6 separate regions of the Homo sapiens genome follow, and all the other regions are linked to region 3. The links are contacts of gene promoters, found by promoter capture Hi-C in blood cells and fetal thymus (Javierre and others, 2016). All regions are on one chromosome and are shown on one strand. Each heading gives the region's core, a stretch centred on a gene start or on the middle of the fragment in contact. The rest is flanking DNA. Distances are from core to core; before and after follow the strand shown.

Evidence for each region. Contacts are between HindIII fragments. The CHiCAGO score rates a contact against its expected background, and 5 or more counts as called.
Region 1: a fragment that was not itself captured here is called in contact with the fragment with the promoter of RFT1 in region 3 in 2 of 17 cell types (total CD4 T cells and naive B cells); the score reaches 6.0 in total CD4 T cells.
Region 2: a contact is called between a fragment that was not itself captured here and the fragment with the promoter of RFT1 in region 3, in 4 of 17 cell types (total CD4 T cells, naive CD4 T cells, non-activated CD4 T cells and 1 more). The highest score is 7.2, in total CD4 T cells.
Region 4: a contact is called between a fragment that was not itself captured here and the fragment with the promoter of RFT1 in region 3, in 3 of 17 cell types (M1 macrophages, naive CD4 T cells and non-activated CD4 T cells). The highest score is 5.5, in M1 macrophages.
Region 5: a contact is called between a fragment that was not itself captured here and the fragment with the promoter of RFT1 in region 3, in 1 of 17 cell types (total CD4 T cells). The highest score is 6.7, in total CD4 T cells.
Region 6: a fragment that was not itself captured here is called in contact with the fragment with the promoter of RFT1 in region 3 in 1 of 17 cell types (naive B cells); the score reaches 5.0 in naive B cells.

What each region holds. Positions count from the first base shown.
Region 1 is chr3:52,834,798-52,839,051 of GRCh38, reverse strand. All of the region lies in intron 8 of STIMATE-MUSTN1 (STIMATE-MUSTN1 readthrough), which reads left to right. STIMATE (STIM activating enhancer) reads left to right here. Exons shown (of 8, transcript NM_198563.5): 8 at 1-2,319. It overlaps MUSTN1 (musculoskeletal, embryonic nuclear protein 1), which reads left to right and starts at 4,033. Exons shown (of 3, transcript NM_205853.4): 1 at 4,033-4,112. The coding sequence starts at 4,104. RefSeq lists an enhancer at 1,433-1,602. The HindIII fragment of the contact is 2,009 bases long and covers 1,627-3,635 here.
Region 2 is chr3:52,740,079-52,744,277 of GRCh38, reverse strand. NEK4 (NIMA related kinase 4) reads left to right here. Exons shown (of 16, transcript NM_003157.6): 11 at 1-39; 12 at 817-926; 13 at 2,779-2,867. Among named protein-coding and RNA genes, the nearest start is that of NEK4, 29 kb to the left of the region's middle. The HindIII fragment of the contact is 6,871 bases long and covers 1-4,199 here.
Region 3 is chr3:53,128,062-53,131,865 of GRCh38, reverse strand. RFT1 (RFT1 glycolipid translocator homolog) reads left to right here and starts at 1,431. Exons shown (of 13, transcript NM_052859.4): 1 at 1,431-1,528. The coding sequence starts at 1,466. RefSeq lists enhancers at 1,026-1,075, 1,086-1,285, 1,326-1,375, 1,386-1,575. The HindIII fragment of the contact is 8,425 bases long and covers 1-3,804 here.
Region 4 is chr3:52,720,369-52,724,234 of GRCh38, reverse strand. All of the region lies in intron 15 of NEK4 (NIMA related kinase 4), which reads left to right. Among named protein-coding and RNA genes, the nearest start is that of SPCS1, 16 kb to the right of the region's middle. The HindIII fragment of the contact is 4,732 bases long and covers 1-3,866 here.
Region 5 is chr3:52,759,260-52,763,155 of GRCh38, reverse strand. NEK4 (NIMA related kinase 4) reads left to right here. Exons shown (of 16, transcript NM_003157.6): 6 at 2,220-2,361. Among named protein-coding and RNA genes, the nearest start is that of NEK4, 9.7 kb to the left of the region's middle. The HindIII fragment of the contact is 3,217 bases long and covers 522-3,738 here.
Region 6 is chr3:52,780,141-52,784,431 of GRCh38, reverse strand. ITIH1 (inter-alpha-trypsin inhibitor heavy chain 1) reads right to left here. Exons shown (of 22, transcript NM_002215.4): 6 at 4,050-4,163; 7 at 2,367-2,492; 8 at 2,165-2,281; 9 at 1,307-1,475; 10 at 1,093-1,218; 11 at 1-136. Among named protein-coding and RNA genes, the nearest start is that of ITIH1, 4.7 kb to the right of the region's middle. The HindIII fragment of the contact is 1,535 bases long and covers 2,131-3,665 here.

The DNA of each region.
Region 1 (4,254 bases), core at 1,382-3,881, 290 kb after region 3:
TGACCCCAGCCGTTTCCCTGCTGTGGAAACAGCAAGGTAGGGGCACTGCTTGGTGGTTTGTCAAGCTCAGAGGCAGCCACGGATGGTTAGGAACAGGAAGCCACACTGCTAAGGTGTGATGAGCTAGAAGGGAGACATCCTGGACTTCAAGTGAGACAAGTGCAGAGGAGGCCACTCCACTTAGGACCTTCCTTTTAGACCTGCATGAGCACGTGTTTCACTTAAGCACATTGGGTCCGAATTGGGCGCATGAACCCAGCTGTTAAACCAGGTACCCTGGGACTGCCCTCTGCCTCTCAGAGCCCTACCTGTCCTGGACTTGAAGGCGAGCATCAGGCAGGCCTTCTCAGCCCATCTTCCACCAGGAGTGCAGAGCCAGGGTGCTGAGAGGAGCAGGGACTGTAACTACAGTAGGAGGCAACTTTGCTGGTGTCATTCCTGCTCGGATTGACTTTGTGCTCCCTCCCATCCACAGCTATGGTAGCCAGTATTTCCCCAGCAGCTCTCTAGTGGGGAAGAGTGGCTAGAACCAGGCCATTCTCAGTCGAATTTAGGAAGACCAAGACTCATGTTCCTGACAGGACGGTCATTCCCTCATGGCATCACTGACTCAGTTCTAATTCCTCCCCTCCTGTTTCATTTTGGTTTGAACAACCTGTGCCTGCAGCTGTTTCTTCCACCTTCCTGGAGCTCACAATTGGAGCTTCATGTTCAGTCTTGAGCTCCTAATGTTTCCAGACAGGGCAGGGGATAGGAGAGCCATAATCTATGAAAGCTGTGAAACAAACCCTGGGTTATATAGATCTCAGATGGTCTCATCTGAAGGCTTTGCCCACTTCCCAGTGAGCAGAGGGTTTGGGGAACAAAGAGGTAGCTGAAGAGTGGTGGTTTTTCCCTGTATCCTGATTTTCAGAAAGGGCTTTAGTCTCTGAGCTGTGGCTAGTAGCTGGCTGGCTGACCAGGGGACGGGGGTCTAATAGGGTGTCTGACCATAGGACACCTCTCGTGTTTGGCCTTCCCTTTCTTGTGTGTTTGTGTGTGTGTGTGCACGTGCACGTGCACACACATGTACACACACAAATCTGTATCCCCAGGAGTGCCTCCTGCAGTCACTGGGGGCTCTTCCGTGGTGCACCATCCCATGAGAGCAGATCAGAGGGCTGTGGTCAGGACTTCCTCCCGAGCTGCCCTCCCTCCCTGGGATGAGTTTCCTCTCCACCTGCTCCAAGGTGCCTTACGAGGTGCAGCTCTTCACCTGGCCACATGGCATCCATCACCGTGTTGAGAAATGGTGGGACGTTGGCTGGATATTGTGTGCTATGAATCTGATTTGTCCAAATCTGGACCTCAGCCAAGCCACCTGTGGTGGAACCTTGCAAGTCAAGGTCATGAACAAATTTCTTGTAACTATTGGAAATAAACTAATGAGGTAGAACTGTCATATCCAAATGGAAGAGGTGGTTGGTACTGTTACTTCCTTTTGCTGTCAGAGGGTTGTTGACAATGGCAAGGGGGGATGTTAGTGAGATCCAGGTGGTGGTGGCTTCTTGGTCCACTCAGCTTGCACACATGCAAGAGGAGGGTCTGTGGCCCCTCAGCCGTGCTGGTGGCCTCCTTCCTCAAGCTTTAACTTGTGCCCTCCCTGGCAACAGGGAGTCATGGGTTAATGTCACCTGTCATGCCTCTTTCTTCAGGGAAAATATTAAAAGGCTCAAATCCAAGCTGTGACTTCCCTTAGACAGTGTAAGCCTGTAGGGTGCAGCCCCAAGTTTATGTCCAAAGGCTGCCTCAGAACCCTGGAGGGAGCAGCGCCCAGCTGGCAGCTCACTCTGCCCTTGCAGTTCACTGGCCTTTTCGCAGCCAGGCTAAGATAGGCAGTGCAAGGAGCTTCCCACTGGCCAGAGCAGCTGCCTTGTAGAATGTGGGGCTGGCTTTTAGAAGTTTCACACGCTTGCAGCTAAGAGTGCAGAGCTCTCTGTTTTACTTCGTGAAACATTAGCAGCTCTGAGGGGCTTGGCTTTTGGTAAGGGACTTATGGTCTGACTTGCCACAAGCACCTTGAGCTCCTGGGTTGGTTGGTGGTTGGTTGGTTGGGTTGTTTTAAATTTGATTTTTCTTTTCCTGAAGTTTGTTAGAAGTCAGACCTATGCAAGGAAAACCATGGCCCACTTCAGCAGCCATCCAGTGGGGGTGCTTAATCGGTGGTGGTAGGATTCATGGAAACGTTTTTTTGAAATGAAAGAGAAGATGATGTACTTACATTGTAAAATGGTTTACAATAAAGTTTGGCATCTTATTACAGTTTTTTTTAAAAAGAAACCATCACATTTGTGGTTGTGGTTGTGGGTTCTCTGGAGTTGAAACAGCTTGGCAGGGTCAAAAAAGATTCCCCTGTGAATTAGAAGGTTCTCCCCAGGGACCAGAGTGAGAAGGAACCTTACGAAGCCTCATGGCAGGAGTGGGAGCCAGCAACTGCCCAGTGAAAAGCCAAACATGCTCTTGCCATGTCCATCTCCACTTCTTCGCTAGTGAGAATTAAAGCAAGTCCGTCTCTGAGGAGGACATCGTGTTGGGGAGGTAGAGTATAAGCAGTGAGTAGCCCACATCCTTGTCCCTGAGGCTGCGGGGCTGGAAGGAGGTCCCTGGGCAGAGCCGCAGCATCAGGTGCCATCTGCAGGGGCACCCCTGGAACTAGTGGAAGGCCCCCACAAGGCCTGGCCTGCCCTCAGCTGCCTCTTGGCCCATGTGCCACATCCTGGGCATTCCTCATGTCAGCACTTGTCTCAGATCAAGCCTGGCAGTCCTCTCATTGGCCTCCTGGAGCCAGGGTGTCAGGAGGGGGATTGGGGTGGGGTTCAAAGTATGACAGCAATGGAGTGGCATTTGGGATAACCAAATGTCAGTGCCTGGTTGAGTTCCATCTGCCTGGAGCCTTCGAGGATAAAAATAATCTCCATCATAAACTGAAAAGGACTTAGATATGTGTGTTACTGGGAGGGCTGCGACCTATGCACACCTATTCCCCATACCCACCCCAGGCGTAGGCTCCTGGCCTGTGCCCTGGGGGATCTTCCCCTTGCAAGGAGGGGTGTGTTAGGAGCTTCTAGCAAAGGAGAGCTAAGTGACCTTCCGGGGAGCCCTTGGGCCTGTTCTTGTCTCTGCAGCTCAGTATCTGGAGTGGGCTTCACTCTCCCCCACCCTCTTTGAGCAACTGAAACTGTCCTGCAGGCCAGCCCCCCTGCGGTGGCCTCACCTACTCGGAGGTGAGTAGGCTCAGGCCTGAGCCTGAGCCTGTTTCACACCTCTGTCTCATCAGTGCTGTCACCATCGAGCATGGTTTCCTCCCTGGTCCTTTCCAGACCCCTTACTCCCCCCTCTCTGAACTTGCAGTTGGAATAGGATAGAGGACAAGGACATCAGCAAAAACATGAGCAACTCCCCAGGCTCCCTTTACCTCACTTTCTCCACCTGTGAACCTGTGGTAGCCCCTCTCTGAGTTTGCTGCAAGGGCCCAGTGAGCTTGCCATAATCAGACGCAGCAGACACGGGAAGCTCCTGCTCTGCCACCATGCAGGGATGGAAAATCTGTCCACTGGAATCCAGGGGAAGGGATGGAAGAGGAAGAAAAACAAGCTTGGAGCAGTCCAACCCAGCTAGGGCCCTCCATTCCCTCAGGGACACCCCACACCCACCCCACACACTGGGATGAACCCTTGCAGAGGAACAATTCAGATGGTCACACATTCCAGGACCCAAATCCGTAAACACAAAGCATGTCCGTCAGTGCCAGCACCTCCCCCCGGCGAATCAAGCAGCTGTCCCAGAGGGCAAAGGGTCTCTGCAGCCATCTGCTTTCATCAGGGCTGCAGCCCCCAGGCAGCAGTACTGGGAGCCCCTCTCATCTCCGAGAATAAACTCTGAAGCCAGCGACCCTGCGGACCTGAATCATCAGGGAGCCTGTCAGAGGAGGGGCAGTGACTCTGCGGGACAAGCAAGCAGGCTATATAAGTTTCAGAAGGCTGGGCTCCACTCAGATCTTTTCCAGCAGCTGCTGCCTGCCAGAGAGGCGCCTTCAGAGACCCAGCGCTTACACAATACCCACCATGTCCCAGGTAGGAGGACCCAGCAAGGGCTGTGTTGATGCCAGAGGGAGTGGAGGTGGAGTCCTGGACACTTTCGGCTCTGGCAGCTGTGTCTTGATCTGAGCCCCAAGCATGAACTGGAGGCTCTGCAGCCCTTGGGAGATGGGGGCTC
Region 2 (4,199 bases), core at 759-3,258, 390 kb after region 3:
GGCGACTAAAGCAGTCACAGGAAGAAATGTCCTCTTCAGGTAAAGTTGACTTCTTTTCTTCATCTAATTGGCAGTTAGGGGTATGGTTCGTGGACAGAAACACTGGTTCTAACTATGAGAGGTTGAAACTTTCCAGCAGCAGTAAAACATGTAGGAAATCGAGTTGGAAAAGATTTTGAAATTTCTTAGTCAAGTCTTTTAAGAAATCATCATAGGGTGTTGAATGTGGTTCAAATATCAGAGGAGGGGGATATTAAAGAAATAACAAGAGGGCTTTGAGTGGCAGTAAGTCCTGGGAGGTTTCAGACCAGAAATCAAGTGAATGTTTAACTTTTTTCCATGTCCAGTGTCCACTGTTCAGTGAATTGCTCCCATCTTAGGAACAGAGGGAGGTTGCTTGGGGAGTGGTGCTGCCGTAGGCTGAGGGCTATCATTCTTTTTAATATTTTTTAAAGATAGTACTAGCAGTTTCCATTTATTGAATGCTGACCATGTCTTAGGCATTATGGTAAACATATTAAGGGTATTATCTCATTTCACATTTACAGTACTGCCAAAATATGCAGCATTATCCTCATTTTGCAGCTAAGGAAACAGAGGCTCTGAGGAGTTAAGTAACTTGCCCAAGGTCACAGAGCTGGTGGACCTAGAGCTAAGATTTCAACTGAGGTGTCAGACACCAGAGAAATGATAAATATGCTGTTTGACTTACTTTTGGGCTAGCTCCTGCTGGGGTATGTTCCATACCAAATACAAAGCCCTTTTCAACTGGGGCAGCCCACCACAAACAACTACTGGGGATGTTTGCCTTTTCAGGCCCTTCAGTGAGGAAAGCGTCTCTGAGTGTAGCAGGGCCAGGAAAACCCCAGGAAGAAGACCAGCCCTTGCCTGCCCGACGGCTCTCCTCTGACTGCAGCGTCACTCAGGTGCATTACGTACTCCTAAGAGAGAAGGTGGACAGTCTACATCTGGCAGGCCTAATGCAGTAAACCTTTTAAATGTCAGCTCCATTTATTTTTGGGACAGGGCCAGCTTGTTATATCTTTTCACTCTTGATAAAGAAAGGAACTGGTAAATAATAGTCAAAAGGATTATGATTGACCCATTAAGGGAATAAATTTTTCAGGTACTCTTGTAAACAATTGATAGCCTAATTAAAAATATTTCATAGGTTGGTCTTAACAGGACTTCCTGGCCTGATGCAGTGGCTCACGCTTATAATACTAGCACTTTGGGAGGCCAAGGTGAGAAGATTGCTTTAGCCCAGGAGTTTGAGATCAATCTGGGCAATATAGTTGGACCCTGTCTCTAAGAAAAAAAAATTACCTGGCAAGGTGGCGCACACCTGTAGTCCCAGCCACTCGGGAGGCTGAGGTGGAAGGATCACTTGAGCCCAAGAGGTTGAGGCTACAGTGAGTTGTGTTCACACCACTGTGCTTTAGCCTAGGTGACAGAGCAAGACTCTGTCTCAAAAATATAAATAAATAAATAAGTAAATAAATAACAGAACTTTCTAAGGGCTTGCACTAGGCAGCACTTTGCTCAATCTGCTGTGATACCAACATACCCATCTGTGTCGCCAGATTTGAGTCTCACTTGCTAATCATTCCTCAGTTTCTTATTTGTGTCAATGTAGTTTACCTTCTTGCCTGTAGATGATGTAGGGACACCATCTGGTGGCTAAATGGGTAATTACTAGGTTTCTAACCCATGTTCACCTCTCTGTATAATACTCTGGGAATTCTTCCTGTTCTTTGAAAGTATTGGATGTATTATTTCTTTAACTATATCATTTAGTTATTTCACTAATAGAGGCTGCCTTCCATATCTCAGAGTTGTAAGGTTTATGTGTATTTTTAGGTGATCCTTTAAAGCACTTTAACAGTCTCACATTAAGAGCAAGCTGAAGCTGGGCATGGTGGCTTGTGGGTGTTATCTCAGCTACTTGGGAGGCCAAGGAAGGAGGATTGCTTGAGCCCAGGAGTTTGTGGCCAGCCTGGACAACATAGTGACACCCCTGTATCCAAAAAAAAGAAAAAAAAAAAGACAAGCTGAGTTTGCCTAGGTAATTTAAAATGCCAACATTCCTATAGAACAAGCCTTCTGCTTAGGAGTTGATAAACCAGAACTAGCCATCCACTGTCCTCTGGAAATTTCTTCACAGCTGAGACTCTCCAGGACCTTTGTAAAACTTCACCTTGGGCAGGCGCGGTAGCTCATGCCTGTAATCCCGGCACTTTGGGAGGCTGAGGCAGGCGGATCATGAGGTCAAGAGTTGGAGACCAGCCTGGCCAACATGGTGAAACCCTGTCTCTACTAAAAATACAAAAATTAGCTGGGCGTTGCGGCACGTGCCTGTAATCCCAGCTACTCGGGAGGCTGAGGCAGGAAAATCACTTGAACCAGAGAGTCGGAAGTTGCTGTGAGCCGAGATCGTGCCACTGCACTCTAGCCTGGCGACAGAGCAAGACTCTGTCTCAAAAAAACACAAAAATCAAAACAAAAAAAAAACAAACAAAATAAAAAACTTCATCTGATGTTCTTCAGTTATTCTTGTGGACTTTATGAGTGAACTGGGATATCACGGGTAAAATCACTTCAATGTTTTTTTCTTTTTGCCACAAATCATATGGGAACAATTTTTGTATTTGTTAGATTCTCCTGTTATATTGCACCTAGGAACGTATTGTGTCTAGTTGTTGCATCTAAGACTGGTTCAAGTATCACATTCTGGTTGTGTTGTCATGTAGAATTTTAATTCTTCCAAACATTTAATAGGAAAGGAAACAGATTCATTGTCTGTCTGAGGATGAGTTAAGTTCTTCTACAAGTTCAACTGATAAGTCAGATGGGGATTACGGGGAAGGGTAAGTTCTTGTTTTTCTGTCTCCCTTTATAAACTATTTCTGTTTTAATGAATATTAAATGTGCATTTTCAGTAGTATTTAGATCTCTAGTATTCCCACTGATAAAATTATAAATGGTTTGTGGCATATGCTGGAGCTAAAAGTGTCTCTTCTTTTTTTTTTTTTTTTTTTTTTGAGACGGAGTTTCGCTCTTGTTGCCCAGGCTGGAGTGCAGTGGCACAATCTCCGCTCACTGCAAGCTCCGCCTCCCGGGTTCACACCGTTCTCCTGACTCAGCCTCCCAAGTAGCTGGGACCACAGGCGTCCGCCACCATGCCCGGCTAGTTTTTTGTATTTTTTTAGTAGAGATGGCGTTTCACCGTGTTAGCCAGGATGGTCTCGATCTCCTGACCTCGTGATCTGCCCACCTCGGCCTCCCAAAGTGCTGGGATTACAGGCGTGAGCCACCACGCCCCGCCTGGCCATTATTTCTTCACATTTTTTTTTTGGACTTCTTCCTGCCCTCTTAGGGATTCCAATTACATGTATATTAGGCTCCTTAAATATGTGCCACAGCTCACTGATGCTCTGTTTATTTTTACTTTTTAAAAATATATTTTATTTTATTTATTTATTTTTTGAGACAGAGTCTAACTCTGTCATCTAGACTGGAGTGCAGTGGCATGATTTTGGCTCACTGCAACCTCTGCCTCCTGAGTTCAAGGTATTCTCCTGTCTCAGCCCCGCCGAGTAGCTGGGATTACAGGCACTCGCCCAGCTACATTTTTGTATTTTTGGTAGAGACTGGGTTTCACCATATTGGCAAGGCTGGTCTCGAACTCCTGACCTCAGGTGATCCGCCCACCTCGGCCTCCCAGACTGCTGGTATTACAGGCATGAGCCACTGCACCTGGCCTGTTTTTACTTTTTTTCTGTTTCACATTTCATAGATTCTATTGCTATGTCTTTGAGTTCATTAATCTTTTCTTCTGCAGTGTCTAATCTGTTAATCCTATCCCGTGTATTTAATATATTGTATCTTTCATTTCTAGAAATTTGATTTGGGTCTTTTTTTAATGTCTTTGTGTCTCTCTTTAACATGTTCATGTTTTCTTCTACCTTGGCCATATGGAAGATATTTATACTACCCATTTTAATGTCCTCATTTATTAATTCTATCAGTCGTGTCACTTTTGGATATGTTTCTATTAACTGATTTCTTTCTCTTCACAAATGTATGATATTTTCCTGCTTCTTTGCCCATCTGGTTATTTTTGATGGGATGCTAGACACTGAATTTTACCTCATTGGAAGCTGGTATTTTGTGTTTCTTTAAATATTCTTGAGCTTTGT
Region 3 (3,804 bases), core at 182-2,681:
CTGTCTTGATTTGCTTGGGCTGCTGTAACAAAATACCATAGACTGGGTAAGTCAAAAACAGAAATTTCTCTCACAGCTCTGGAGGCTGGAAGCCCAAGATCAAGGTGCTAGCCAGTTTGGTTCCTGTTAAGTGTATGTTGGGCGCCTTACATTTTACAAAGCCTTCTTCGTGGTTGCAGACAGCTACATTCTTGCTGTATCCTCAAATAGTAAACACAGAGATCATTTTTCTGACATCTCTTTTTATAAGGACATGAATCCCATTATGACGGCTCCACTTTCAGGACCTAATTACTTCCCAAAGGCCTTACCTCCTAATACTATCACACTGGGGATTAGGCTTCAACATATGAATTTTGAGGGTACACAAACATTTAGTCCACAGCAGGTACCAGCTGTGGTTGGCCAGGAAAGTCAGGACAGTGTGGTCTAGGAGGGCAAGGGGTGCTGTCAGGGAAGACACTTTGGACAAAGAGGGTGGAGGAGCAAAGGCCAGTGAGTCACCGCCTGTTTGAGGACCAGTAAGGACTCGGAATGGCTATGGCCTAGATAGTGTTGGGAAGGGCAATGATCGTGTGAAAGGTAGTAGAAGATAGGTTGGGGCCAAATCATGTGAGGACTGAAAGAGATTGGGGAAAGACTGGGCTTCCTACAGCCTGCTTGGTAGATAATAAGAACACTGACAGAACAGCAGCTGATTGTGTATGTTGGGCGCTTTACATTTTTTTACAAAGCACTTCCAGTCCTTCTTCCACTCTGCCCTCACAATTTCTAGCATACAGGCAAGAGTGATAAGTTTAGGATCAGGAGCCTGGTATCCACTTAGTCAGGAAACAAGTTGTGTAGATTCGAACAAGTCACTTCCCATCTCCAAGGCTTTACTCATCTCTAACCACAGGGGCCAATTCTCAGAGCTTTCGGAAGGATTTCACAAAACCATACACATAACAGTGCTATATCTAACTTCTGGTCCTCAGTTCTTTCTCTGTTAAATGAGGACAATTCCTGTCCAGCCTAATTCAGAGGGTCTGTGGCTGTGATTCTGTAAGCAAAGGTCAATGGTGAGAATCTTCTTAACGGGCCAGTGAGAAGTTTGTTCCCCTTTTGGCAGATGAGGCCAGGAAAGTTAGTGCTTCTTGGTTGGTGGCTGAAAGCCTCAGAGAAGGAACTTTGGATTCTTTAACGGTATCTCTTAGTACTCGCCACACTATTTCGTTTATACGGGGAAGAGAGGGACAGACAGCGCACAAGCGACAGACAGCGCAAAACCTACCGAAATAGAAAGAGCCAGGCGCCATAACAGACGGCCCGAGACAGGCCCACTTAAAGGACCAGAACTTCTCGTGCCCCGCCCCCCTCTCTCAAGGCCATCAATCAGACAGCGAGGCGCGCCGTGACGCCATCTTATCGCGACTAAACGGAGTGGCGGCGGCATTTCCTGGTGTCTGAGCCTGGCGCGGAGGCTATGGGCAGCCAGGAGGTGCTGGGCCACGCGGCCCGGCTGGCCTCCTCCGGTCTCCTCCTGCAGGTACTCTCTGCCCTTCAGGTTCCAGCTTGTACTGCAGCCGGGATTCGCGGGATGGCAGCCCTTGGGCCCTTGAGAGCCTGCCCCAGGGCCGACCCAGTCCCGAGGTGGACCCCGCAATGGAGGGGGTGGGGGGGTCGACCGGAGACGGTGGCATTGATGAGGGGGGACCCTGGCCCGGAGATAGGAGCCTGCCTTTAGAGTCTAGGCCGGGTGACTGCAGACAAGCCGCTTTCCTTCTGAGCATTCTATTTCCCATATGGCAGTAGGAGTGAATTAGATCAGGTGGCGGGGGTGAGGGACTGGTATTTCGTGCTCGAGAATCTGATATTTTTCAGGCAAGGGGTTCATTTCCTTCATCAAACACCTTCCTCAAACTTTGAGTCCCACTGAGTTCCGAGAGTCCATATGGCATAGCTAAGAAGAGAAATCTGGAGTTAGGCTTGGATTGCTCCGTGACCCAGGACAAGTGACTTCACCTGCAGAGCCTGAGTTCCTCACTAGTAAAATGGGGGTAATAATATGTCGTACTTAGCTCATAAGCAGGGATTGATTGGGATCATTCAAATAAACGTACTTAACACAGTACCCGGCTCTTAGTATGCATTTAATACATGTTGGCTGCATCTTCTGTTTATGTGATCTTGGACAAGTCACTTCCCTTCTTGGCCCTAATTTTTGTCATCTGTCAGGTATGATACAGGCCAGTTAGTCCAAATGGTATCTGAAGATTCTTTCAACCCCAGGAGCTGAACCTCTTAAGTCAAGTGGCTCAGTATCTCTCTGTCTCACTCTTGAGCCAATCAACCCTACTTCACACAAGTCCCGAATCTACCCTACCCCTTATCTTAGAGAGGCACATGGAGGGCAGAAGAAAGAACCAAGCAGAATGGGGCTTGAGTTTGGGCCTTGTCACTTGCTAGATGCCTGCCTTCGGGATAAATCCGATGACTTCTGTATCAGTTTCTTCATCTTAAATGAGAATCATAGTGCAACCTCACAGGGTCATTAGGAAGATTAGATGAAATCATGCCTCTTAAGTGCCTGGCACACTACAAGTACTTAATAAATGTAGCTATTTTTATTAGGGTAATAAGTATTTTTAAAATAGTCAATGTAGGAATGAAATGAGATAACCTATGGAAAGCATGTTGAAGAGTGCCTTGCACGTGATATGTGCTTAGTAAATGTTAGCCATTCTAAGTTTACCTAGGGATTTTTTTTTTCTGTTTCACTACATAAATAACTGAGTTTATTGTTTTATCCACAATGTTGGTTTTTTTTCAGCCTTTGATAATATCTTACTACTCAGATAGGCTTCATAAAACGAAAACAAGTTATAACGGAAAACACACTGGACTACGAGTCAGGTGGCTTACCTGTAAGGTCAAGCTGGGTCATTTACTTGCCGTGTGACAGTGAGGAAATCACTTAACCCTCAGTCTTGCTTCCTGTGCATTTACCTCGTTGTTTTTAGTGTCAAATAATTTAACAGATGTGAGAGAGCCTTTTTGTTAAAACTGTAAAGTTGGCTGGACGCGGTGGCTCATGCCTGTCATCCCAGCACTTTGGGAGGCCAAGGCAGGAGGATTGCTTGAGCTCAGGAGTTGAAGACCAGCCTGGGCAACATGGTGAAACCTTGTCTTTACAAAAAATACAAAAATTAGATGGGCGTGGTGGCATGCACCTGTAGTCCCAGCTACTCAGGAGGCTGAGGTGGGATGATCTCGAGTCTGTGAGGTTGAGGCCTCAGTGAGCTGTGATTATGCCACTGCACTCCAGCCTGAGCAACAGAGTGAGACCCTGTCTTAAAACAAAAGCTGTAAAGTTCTTTGCAGAAGTAAATGAAGGCTGTGTTGCTAATAAGGACTGCAGTGTGTGGCAAATACTGGGTGGCGTAAGCAACCTCAGTTTCATTAGCTGCAACCTTTATTCAAACCAATTAGGAGACATGGATATGGCCTGGAACATTAAGTTTCTTAGACAGTGGTAACTTTGAGGTTAACATAAGTATGTACACATGGTGTTTTGTTTTTTGTTTTCGAGATGGAGTCTCACTCTGTTGCTCAGGCTGGAGTGCAGTGGCACTATCTCGGCTCACTGCAACATCCGCCTCCCGGGCCCAAGAGATTCTCAGGCCTCAGCCTCCCAAGTAGCTGGGATTACAGGTACCTGCCACCACACCTGGCTAATTTTTGTATTTTTAGTAGAGACAGGGTTTCACCATGTTGGACAGGCTGGTCTCGAACTTCTGACCTCAAGTGATCCACCTGCCTCAG
Region 4 (3,866 bases), core at 777-3,276, 410 kb after region 3:
GTTTTAAGACAAAGTCTCACTGTCCCCAGGGTGGAGTGCGGTGGCGCCATCTTGGCTCACTGCAACCTCTGTCTCCCGGGTTCAAGCAATTTTTGTGACTCAGCCTCCTGTGTAGCTGGGATCACAGGCATGTGGCATCACATGGGGCTAATTTTAGTATTTTTAGTAGAGACAGGGTTTCACCATGTCATCCAGGTTGGTCTTGAACTCCTGACCTCAAGTGATCCACCCGCCGTGGCCTCCCAAAATGCTAGGATAGCAGGTGTGAGCCACTAAGCCTGGCTGTGTCTTTTTACAGTTTGATTATAATGTATTTCAGTGTAGACTCTTGAGTTCATCCTACTTGGAGTTTGTTGAGCCTCTTGGATGTTTATATTTATTTTGTCTTTTAAATATTTGTCTTTCATCAAACTTGTGAATTTTTCAGCTATTATTTCTTCAGATCATTTATCTGATCCCCTCTCTCTCCTCTTTCTCTGGGACTCCCACATTGCTTACGTTGGGCTGCTTGATGGTGTTCTATAGGTCCTTTAAGCTCTGTTCACTTTCTGTAGTCTTTTTTCTTCCTGTTCTTCAGACTTGATACTTTTAATTATCCTATCTTCAAGTTCACTATTTCTTTCTTGTCCTTGCTCAGATCTGCTTTTTCATTGCAGTTATTGTACTTTTCATCTTCAGAATTTCTTTTTTTCAGACCGGGCATGGTGGCTCATGCCTGTAATCCCAGCACTTTGGGAGGCTGAGCCAGGCAGATGACTTAAGGTCAGGAGTTCGACCAGCCTGACCAACATGGTAAAACCCCGTCTACACTAAAAGTACAACAATTAGGCACGGTGGCATGCACCTGTAATTCCAGCTACTCAGGAGGCTGAGACACGAGAATCGCTTGAACCCGGGAGATGGAGGTCACAGGTTCTACTGCCCTTCAGCCTGGGTGATGGAGCAAGACTCCATCTCAAAAAAAAAATTCTTTTTTTCTTTTTATGTCTTTCTCTTTACTGATATTTGTTTTATTTATACATCATTTTATTTTATTTTGAGACAGGGTCTCATTCTATCTGGAGTGCAGTGGTGCAGTGATAGCTCCCTGCAGCCTCAAACTCCTGGGCACAAGTGATCCTCCCGCCTTAGCTTCTCAAGTGGCTGGAACTACAGGCACATGCCACCATACTTAGCTAATTTTAAAATTTTTTTGTAGAGACAGGGTCTCATTATGTTGCCCAGGCTGGTCTCAAACACCTGGTCTCAACTAATCCTCCTGCCTTGACTTCCCAAAGTACTTAGATTTCAGGTGTGAGCCACCATGCCTGGCCACATAATTACATAACTTTCTTTTTCTGAGACAGAGTCTCGCTCTGTCGCTCAGGCTAGAGGGCAATGGAATAGTCATGGCTCACTGCAGCCTGGGCTCAGGTCATCCTCCCACCTCAGCCTCCCAGGTTGCCAGGACTGTAGGAGCATGCCACCACACCCAGCTATTTTTTTTGTACATTTTGTAGAGACGGGGTTTCGCCATGTTACCCAGGCCACTCTCAAACTCCTGGCCTCAAGCAATCTGCCTGCCTCAGCCTCCCAGAGTCCTGTAATTACAGGCGTGAGTCACCGTGCCCGGCCACATCATTTTCTAATAAGTCTGCCATCTGATCTTAGGGACAATTTCTATTGATTTCTTTTGTTTTTTTCCTTTGAATGGTCCATACTTATTTTTTATGTCTTGTGGTTTTTTGTTTTTGTTTTCAAACTGGACATTTGAGTTTTTATCATGTGATAATTTAGGGGTCCTCCATGCCAGTGATGTAGGATTTACTTCTCAGTCACTTTGCAAGCCAGGGACCTCTGGCTGGCCATGCCCCACCCAGGCCTCGCTCAGCCATGCTGGTGTGCCCCAGCTCACTTGTGTTATAGCTTGTACCCACGTTCAGCAGTTTCTGAGCTCTCGGACCTTGCCCAAGAAGAATAAGGATACGCTGGATGTTGAAGGGTGAGGAGGGTGGAGAAGAATTTTATTGAGTGATGAAACAGCTATCAGCAGAGAGGGGATGCGAGGGTGGTCCCCCTACCTTAAGGTGGGGAAGTCCCCCTAATATGGCTGAGTCCAGGGCTTTTTATGGGCTCAGAATAAGGGAGGGGTAGGCTGTAGGTAGTATTAGAAAAGGCAACATTCGATTGGTTAAAAGGCATTATTCAGAAAGTATCAATTGGGAAAGGGCGAGCAAAGAGGAACAGAAGTTCCCACTCTGGATCACAGGTTTCATCCAGGACCAGCAGTCTGGTCTTTCAGCCTTCGGACTGATTTGGCTTGAAGGTGGGGTTTCACTGGGAACCTGCCCCATCTGCCTAGGTATTTGGCCACCTCCTGTCACTATCACCAGGGATTAGTCACAGGTATAAACTTAAGGTCCTTCTCATGTCTGAATCTGTGTTTTCCCCTGGGCATGTACATGCATGGTAACTTTCCAAATTCCCCTGTAAATGTGGTTACTTTTTTTTTTTTTTTTTGAGACAGGGTCTTGCTCTGTCACCCAGGCTGGAGTACAATGGTGTAATCACAGCTCACTGCAGCCTTTGCGTCCTGGACTTAAGCAATTCTCCTGTCCCAGCCTCCTTAGTAGCTTGGACAATAGGCGTGCCCCACCACACTTAGCTAATTAAAAAAAATTTTTTTTTTTGGTAGAGACAGAGTCTCCCTATGTTGCCCAGGCGGGTCTTGAACTCCTGGGCTCAAGCAATTCTCCTGCCTTGGCCTCCCAAAGTTCTGGGATTCTAGGCATAAGCCACCGTGCCCAGTGGCTTTGGAACATCCTGCTCCTTCAATGTATGGCCCCCAAAAGGGGGAAAAGAAAAAAAATAAAGTGGGGAGAAATAAAGGCACCAGCCTTTTAAATCCCCAGGAAGTCACTTCAGCTAGAGGGAGGGAGGTTTGCAACAGTGTCAGTGATGGTTGCAACATTGGTTTCCTGCTTCTATATCTGTACTTCAGTGATCAGAAGCAGCAATCAGCTATCAGTACAGAGATCCCTGATACTTGGAGGACTGGTTTCTTATTGCCTACCCTGGTTCTTGCAAGCAGCATGCAAGCTGCTTCAGGAACAGCATGACTGTCTCCACTGGGTGCAGAGTGCTTGGGGCTGAAGTGAACCACAATTTAGCTTCTAAGACTTCCGCCAGATGTTTCCAGCCTTCAAGAGAATCCAGAGTTTTTAAATAGTTACGTAAAAGAGATTCTGTCAGTACAATTTCTGGTTGAGTGAAGAGATACAATTTTTGCTTGAGTGAGGAGATGAATTCCTGATGCTTCTTACTCTGCCATCTTCTATAGTATTGTTTCATACAGTAGCTTTTCAGATTAGTTAAGGAGAGGCAAAATGTGTTTGTATTGTGTTTTATAATTACCTTTACCAGCACTCTTGTGTTTTCACATTGCTTTGAGTTATTGTGTAGGGTCTCATCCTTTTAGCTTGATGAACTTCACTTCGTTTTCCTGTAATGTGGGTCTGCTAGCCACACATTCTCTGCTTTTGTTTATCTGGGAATTTCCTTATTTCACTTTTATTTTTGAATGATAGATTTGCTAGATATGGAATTCTTGTTTGACAGTTTTTTGGAGCACTTCAAATGTTATCCTTCTGCCTTCTAGCCTCCATTGTTTATGAGGAGATGTTAGCTGTGAATGTTATTGGTGTTGCCTTCTGATGAGTTATTTTCATCTTGCTGCTTTCAAGGTTTTCTCTGTTTTTGACTTTCAGCACTTTAACCTTAATGTGTCTGTCTGTGGATCTCTTTGAGTTTATCCTACTTGGAAGTTCATTTAGCTTCTTGGACATGTAGATCAATGTTTTTCAATAAATTTGTAAAGTATTCAGGCA
Region 5 (3,896 bases), core at 881-3,380, 370 kb after region 3:
ACCTAAATGCTTTTTGCTTGATTGAACAAAGAGAGGCAATTGTGGAAAAGTAAACTAGGTGGAGAGGCTAAAGGAAGATAAGAATTATTTTAATAAGGTCTGTTTATAGAATTCTCTCAGTTTCAGCTTTCCATTCTTGATAATAAGAATGTTACTTTCCTTCTGGTACAGGGAGGACGTATTTCATATGGGAGTTTTATCTTCTGCTTTCTGGAAGAAAAAGGGAAGATCAGAGTGCCCTTCTTGCACTTACTTTTTTTTGTTTGTTTTTTTTTGAGATGGAGTCTTGCTGTGTCACCCAGGCTGGAGTGCAGTGGCATGATCTCAGCTCACTGCAACCTCCGCCTCCCGGGTTCAAGCAATTCTCCTGCCTCAGCCTCCCCAGTAGCTGGGATTACAGGCACCCGCCACCGTGCCCGGCTAATTTTTGTAGTTTTAGTAGAGACAGGGTTTCCCCATGTTGGCCAGGCTGGTCTTGAACTCCCGACCTCGTGGTCCGCCCACCTCGGCCTCCCAAAGCTTGCACTTACTTTTTAAAGAACCTTAGCCCAAAATAATCTTTATGCCAAAGTAGCATATTTTGGCGTGGCATATTCTCCCAGTCTTCAAATACATGTTGAAATTTGCTTAATTGCTAAAATCAGAAATTTGGAGAACCACTGTCACATTCCTCAGAGGGTTCTAAGACATATAGTGTAAATTTTTTTTTAAAGGACATATGCACTACTCTGGGCTCACTGCCTATGAGTTAGTCCTGTTCTCAAGGAGCAGCCAAATAATAATAAAAAAAAAGAGGGCATATGTTTTAGAAATCATATAATTAGAGATTATCTGAGAAACCTATACATCTTACTGTGTAAGATAGTAATATTTAAAAAGTAGTGCTCACATTTCTGAGAGCTTGCATAAAGTTCCCTCTTCATTCACATTAACTTCCCAAGAGAATTCCTTGCTTTGGCTTGCAGATCCTACCTTTACTAAACAGGTGTTCCAGGATCTAAGACTTAGGGCTGGACAAAACTATTACAATCTGTTTGGCTTCTCCTCTTGCCTTGTGGCATGTTAAATTTGGAAAGAGAGGAGGCAGTGCTAGAGATGCCTCAGGGAATAAAGAAGAACCATCTTTTTGTGTACATAATTTCCCACCAAGCAGACCTTTGGCCTTCCAGTGTACTGATCTCCATGCTCCTCTTGAATTCTCCAGAGGTTTAGCCCAGTTTTAGAAATGACATACTAAAATAGTTGGGGATGTTATTCCTGTATGCATTTATTCTATAAGCAGGACTAAGTGTACCAATCAGTTTTACTCTCAAAGTTAGCCAAGCAGTTGTGGTATTATTACAGACATGTAAAATTTGAAAATGAAAATTAACCTGATACTCCCGTATGTGAGGCAATCTCCCATAGAATTTTTATTTTGGAATAATTTTGTATAAACAGAAAAGTTGGAAAGATAGAGTGGAGAGTTCCTGTATACCCCTCATCTAGTTTCTTCTGTGATTACCAGATTACATACCCTAATGCATTTGTCAAAACTAAGAAACCAACATCGAAATATTACTATTGACTTGGCCATGCATGGTGGCTCACGCCTGTAATCCCAGCACTTTGGGAGGCCGAGGCTGGCAGATCACCTGAGGTCAGGAGTTTAAGACCAGCCTGGCCAACATGGCAAAACCCCGTCTCTACTAAAAAAAAAATACAAAAAAATTAGCCGGGCGTGGTGGCGTGCACCTGTAGTCCCAGCTACTCGGGAGGCTGAGGCACAAGAATCACTTGAACCTGGGCAGCGGAGGTTGCAGTGAGCTGAGATCACGCCACTACACTCTAGCCTGGATGACAGAGTGAAACTCTGTCTCAATTTTTTAAAAAAAGAAAGAAAAATATTACTATTGACTAAATTCCAGACTTTCTTTGGCTTTCACCAGTTTTTTTCTCTAATGTCTCTTTTCTGTTCCAGGATCCAATCCAGGATATAGTACATCTAATCAGGGGTCTGTGATTGTTTCTCACTTTGTTTATTTTTTATGACCTTGATTGTTTCAAAGACTACTGGTGAGGTGTTTTGTAGGATGCCCCTTAGATTTTTAGAAAACTATTCTCTATAAATGGTGCAGTTCTGTAAGGGAATTCATTGTATACACACACTCCCACATATACCTAAAAACCCTTAATCTTCAGTATATTGATAATAACTCTTTCTTTTCTTCTTTATAAAGAAAAACCTCCAAAAATAACATTAAAAATGGTGACTCTCAATCCAAGCCTTTTGCTACAGTGGTTTCTGGAGAGGCAGAATCAAATCATGAAGTAATCCACCCCCAACCACTCTCTTCTGAGGGCTCCCAGACATATATAATGGTACGTTTCTTTTTAAAGGGTATGTGTTTTAGAAACTGCACTTAGAAAAATGGGCCATCTAAGCAAATTATTTTGTGTGAAATGATTATGCTTTACTAGAGATTCTGTTGTACAATTAATTCCTTACTGTAAAGAAAGAATACTGGTTAAGGTGATTGATTTAGCTTTATCCAAATTGGGCTGTCAAATTGTTCACAAAGTCAGTGCTGTAATAACTTTAAGAATTTTTTAGGTGAAATTTATATAACAAAATTAACCATTTTAAAGTAAACAGTTAAGGCTGAGCGCGGTGGCTCATGCCTGCAATCCCAGCACTCTGGGAGGCCGAGGCTGGCAGATCACCTGAGGTCAGGAGTTCAAGACCAGCCTGGCCAACATGGTGAACCCTCATCTCTACTAAAAATACAAAAATTAGCTGGCTGTGGTGGCATGTACCTGTAGTCATAGCTACTCAGGAGGCTGAGGGAGGAGAATCGCTTGAACCTGGGAGGTGGAGGTTGCAGTGAGCCAAGACTGCACTACTGCACTCCAGCCTGGGTGACAGAATGAGACACTGTCTCAAAAATAAAAATAAAAATAAATAAAATAAAATAAATAAATAAAGTGATCAATTAAATGTGGCCAGTACATTCACAGTGTAGTGCAACCGTCACTTCTATGTAGTTCCAAAACATTTTCATCACCCCAAAGGAAATCTCTTCCTCATTAAGCAGTCACTCCCATTTTGTCCTTCACCCAGCCTCTGGCAACCACCAGTGTGTTTCCTGTCTCTATGAAGTTACCTGTCCTGGATATTTCATGTAAATAGAATCATTAAATATATCCTTTTGTTTCTGGTGTCTTCCACATAGCATATTTTCAAGGTTCATCCATGTAGCATGTATGAATACTTCATTTCTTTTTAGGTCTGGCTACCATTATGTGGATATACCACTGTTTATCCATTCATCCATTAGTAGACATCTGGGTTTTTTTCACCTTTTGGCTATTGCTATGAACATAAGTGTGCAAGTAGTTGAGTACCTGTTTTCCGTTCTTTTGGGTACATACCTAGCAGTGGAATTGCTGAGTCAAATGGTAATTTTTGGTTTGACTTTTTTTTTGGTTTGACTTTTTGAGGAACTGTTGCACTGTTTTCTACAGTGGCTGCACCATTTGACATTCCCATCAGCAGTGCACAAGAGTTCCAGTTTCTCCACATCTTTGCCGGCACTAATTATTTTCTGATTTTTTGATTCTAGCCATCCTAGTGGGTGTAAAGTGGTATCCTATTGTATTTTTGATTTGTATTTCCCTAACGATTAATGACATACAGCATCTTTTCACATGCTTGTTGGCCATTTGTATGTCTTCTTTGGAGAAATATCTGCTAAAGCTTTTGCTTTTTTTTTTTTGATACAGGGTCTTGCTCTGTTGCCTAGGCTGGAGTGCAGTGCTGCGATCACGGCTCAATCTAGCCTCCACCTCTCTGGATCAAGTGATCCTCCCACCTCAGCCTCCTGAGTAGCTGGGACCACAGCATGCCACCATGCCTG
Region 6 (4,291 bases), core at 1,649-4,148, 350 kb after region 3:
CGTCCGTTGTTCTCCATGGACATGACCTCCAGAAAGTTAAAGTCCACATTGTGGCCGAAACCCAGGTTGTAGAGCGGGAACCTGCCCCGGATGGCGTTGCGGACGTTCTTGAGGATTTGGGAACGGTCCGTCACCCCTGCAAGCCACACACCTGGGTAGTGACGGGATGCTGGCCCACAGGCATGTGGGGCACGAGGGGGCTCTGGGGAACACTCCCTGGGGCTCAAGCCTTCCATCTCAGAGCATCTCCAGGCTCCTGGGCATCCTGAGGCATCGCGTCCTCCTGGCTCTCCTGGGAGACTGCAGCAGCTATCAACAGCTCCTCACAGACCCCGCCCATCTAGGTGGGTCCATCACCAGCAGGTCTGATTCTGCTCGAAATCCTGCCATGGCTCCTTTGCCATGGACTGCGAGACCCTGCTGACCTTCCCACGCTTGTTTTACCCCATTCTGCACATGCCCACAGTTCCCGGGCAGGCCCTGCCAGTGCACACACCCTTTTTATGACTTAAGCTGCCTCTTCTGCCTGGGATCCCTTCCTGCCACTCTCCCCTCTTTCTAGACTGAGCTCAGGAGTCACCTCCTCCAGGAGGCCTTCCCGGACATCCCCCTGGGTCAGGTGTCCTTTGTCTATGGTTCCACAGCCTCAAGCACCCTGTTCTTTCAGGGCCCTCAGTATCTACTCCTGGATCTGCTTCCCCCAGTAGGTCCCGGGCTCTTTGAGGGCAGAAATATGTCTTGTTCCCTTGGTATTTCAGTCCCTAGCCCCTTGCTTAGCATACAGTAGGTGATAAATAAATAGTTCATTAAACTGTGAACAGAAGCATGGAATCTTGCCCATCTTCCAGGGACTCATACAGACCTGTGTCATTTAGAAACATCTCCAATTTCTCAACTCACAGGACAGAGGTACACCATAGAGCTCCCTCAGACTTTGTGGTCTGAGCTGTGTTTTTAGACCAGTGCTTGATTTTGCCCTGAGCTTTTCTGCCCCCTGATGGCATCTCCAATGGTTGGGTTTCCAACTTCAGCTTGCATGTCTCGGGTGACAAGGAGATCACTACCTCCCAAGGCAGCCCCCAAGGTGCTTACCCTCTGTGGGATCGCCATCTGTCAACATGATGAGTATTGAGGCATGGTTGCTGAGTTCTGGGAGGCTTTCCTGAACTTGGTTCAAGATCTCAATTCCCCGGAGCAAACCTCCATTCAGGTTTGTGGCTGCAAGGAAGAGAAAGCAGACCAGTGTATGCCCTCATTCTGAGGGGACAGAGGTGACATCAAGGTTGCCTGAGACCCCCACCCTTACCCTCATCCAGGGAAAAGCCCCGCACAAAGTCTTGAGCTGCTTGTAGGTTGGCCTCAGATGCTTGCACCAGCGAGCCCTTCCACGATTGTACTCGAGTCCCAAAAAGAACCAGGTCAAAGTAGTCCCCTGGCTGCATGTCCCCCAGAATTTTAAGGAGTGCCTCCTTGGTCTGCAAGGACAGAACAGTCAGTAGACAGACAGGGCCCCAGGGTGGCCCCAGGACAGCACCTTCCAACTCCAAATACCCATTTCAGAGATCCACAGGGTGGACAAGCAGGAGGAGATAGGACAACCAGGTGGCCCCGAGACAGGAGCATCCTGCCGGGCCTTGGGGTGGATGAGGGAGGTGGAGAAGGCAAAGGAACCCACCATGGGGAAAAGAAATAATCAGGAGTTCGGGAGGGGCAGGATTAAGAGAAAGGACCCCAGGAGCTGTGCTTCTAGAATACTCCTTGTCCAGCCATGTCTACACTGCACCATGGACAGGGCACTCCAAACCCTGTGGGCGGAGAGCTATTCCCTGCTATAAGATGCCTCCCCACGGACCACCGTAATTGTAGTGCACAGGTTTCCTCTTCTAAGCACTTCCCCCAGGGGGTAACTCCATGACCCTGCAGACACCATTGTCATTCCCATTTTTTGCCATTGAGGAGAGGTGAATGCACTTCCTCACGACTGCACAGTGAGGAAGCGATGCTGATTCCAGAGATGCTAACCACTGGGATTTCCTGTTAAATCACTCTGCCTCTGACCAGGAGGATAAATCCCAAACCAGACTCTGGCAGCAAAACTGGCATGTGGTGAGTGATGGGGCTGTGGAAGCTTCTGCTGGGTGAGCTGTTTCAAGCTGCAGCCTACCTGCTTCACTTTCTGGCCTCTCATGGAGCCACTGATGTCAATCACAAAAACCACGTTCTTGTTCATGTTTGTCAGGTTTTGGGGGGCAAAGAAGTGGGCAAAGTGGTTATTGGCCACCTGAAATAGAGGAGAACGAGTGAGGCCACTCTCACAGCACCCCTTGCCCATCCTCTGGGTGCTGAGCCAGAAGCTCAGGGCTCACCAGGAGGTCGCAGATCTTGTCTCGACTGACATCGTAGGTCACCTTGAAGTGCCCGTTCAGTAAGGATGTAGAGCATGTGGGGCAGGACTGCTGCTGGCTCACGGTGGGACGGAACAGCACATGACCCTGGAACCGTCGAGAGTGTGAGCCATTACTGGTCTGTGTAACCACAAACAAGATGTTTGCAAAGACAACATAAGAAGGCATGCGTGTGTGTGTGTGTGTGTTTGCACGGACAGAGAAACGAGTTCGGTGGGCCACTCACTCACCTAGCTGCTGAGAGCACACACCTGTAGGTGGTGGGAGAGATGACCCATTCCCTTGCTTATATGCTTCTGAATCATTGGGATTTTCTACAATGAACATCATCACTTTGGGTATATAAATAATAACAAAATAATAGCAATGTGATACATCTGACAACTCAAACTGTTGAGTGAAAAAGCAGCACTACAATACTGTGGTGAGAAATAAAAGCTGCCCAGGTTGACAAAGAACAAAGACTGGAAGGAAGGGTGCAGAATGGAAGCTGAGGTCTGGTTGGAGTTGGTGATGTGCTTGGGGAAGCTAGTGATGGTTTTTATTCAATACTTTCTATATTCCTGGACTTCATATATTTTTCTATAAAGAAATTTTTGTTTGTTATAAAAGTAAGGTAGGCTCATCAAAAAGAAGCAGAAGCAAAAGGAAGAAGAAGCAGCAGAAAAGAAGAGGAAGAAGAAGAGAAGATAGAAGAAGAAGAAGGAGAAGGAGAAGAAGAAGCAGAAGAAGAAGAAGAGGAAGAAGAAGAAGAAGAAGAAGAAGAAGAAGAAGAAGAAGAAGAAGAAGAAGAAGAAGAAGAAGAAGAAGAAGAAGAAAAAAAAAAAAAGAAGAGGAGGAGGTGAAGGAGGAGGAGGAAGAGGAGAGAAAGGATGGAGGATAAAATAGAACCTTGAAAAAGTCTTGGGAAGACAAGGACCCATCCCTTTGTTCCCCCACAGAAAGCAAGCATGTTTGCTAACACTCTTGAGGTGTCATATTTAGTTTAAAAGGAAACCCCTCTAAACTGTAAGAAGCACTTCTTTTAAATGAATTGTGGTGCAGGCTCTACATAAGTGGGAACTAAAGGATTTGTTCCTGGCTCGGGTTGGGGGCAAGTCAGGAAGCAGGGCATTGCCCATCCATACACCACACTCCTCCAGGAACCTGGGGTGGGGGTGAGCCAGGGGCTTCTGGGATTCCTGCAAATAGTGGCAAGCGACAAGTCGTTGGGTAGGCCAAAGGTCTTTCCAAACTTATGTTTCCAAGAAACCTGAAGCTTGGAGTCCTAACCACACCAGCATATGAGGTTTACTTATGTGCTGGATATTTCCCTGAATGCTCTCCCATGGGCGTGAGGCGGGCAAAGAGGGCACTGAGGCTCAAGCAAGCCAGCAACTCACCCTGGACCATGCAGCCCGTGTGTGGTGGAGCTGGAGCTGGCTCCTTCCCCACCTCAGCATGCAGGCTTTTGCTAAATTGCTCTGAGAACCAGGATAGCTGAGTTCTCCTAGGCACCAATCACATGACACCAGCTTCTCTCATCCTGAGGGCAGACCACAGCCCCTGCCTGGTTTCTGGGCTAAGGCTGGACATTCCATAAGGGGTGGGCAGGCTGAGAAGTCTCCAAAGGGCCCACCACCACCCCCTTGCTATCCCATGTACCTTTTTTCCTGAGAAGGACTTCTTGATAGTTTGGGCTGCCAGTTCCTTCGGCAGGAAAGAGGCCTGGGCATCCAGCTTGCTGATCCCCTGGGGCTCGAAGATGTCCACATCAATCTGCAACATTGAAGCAAATTATTTTTTTAAAAAAAAAGATGGGATCTTGCTTTGTTGCCCAGGCTGGCCTCAAACTCCTGGGCTCAAGCCGTCCTCCTGCCTCAGCCTCCCACGTAGCTGGGATTATA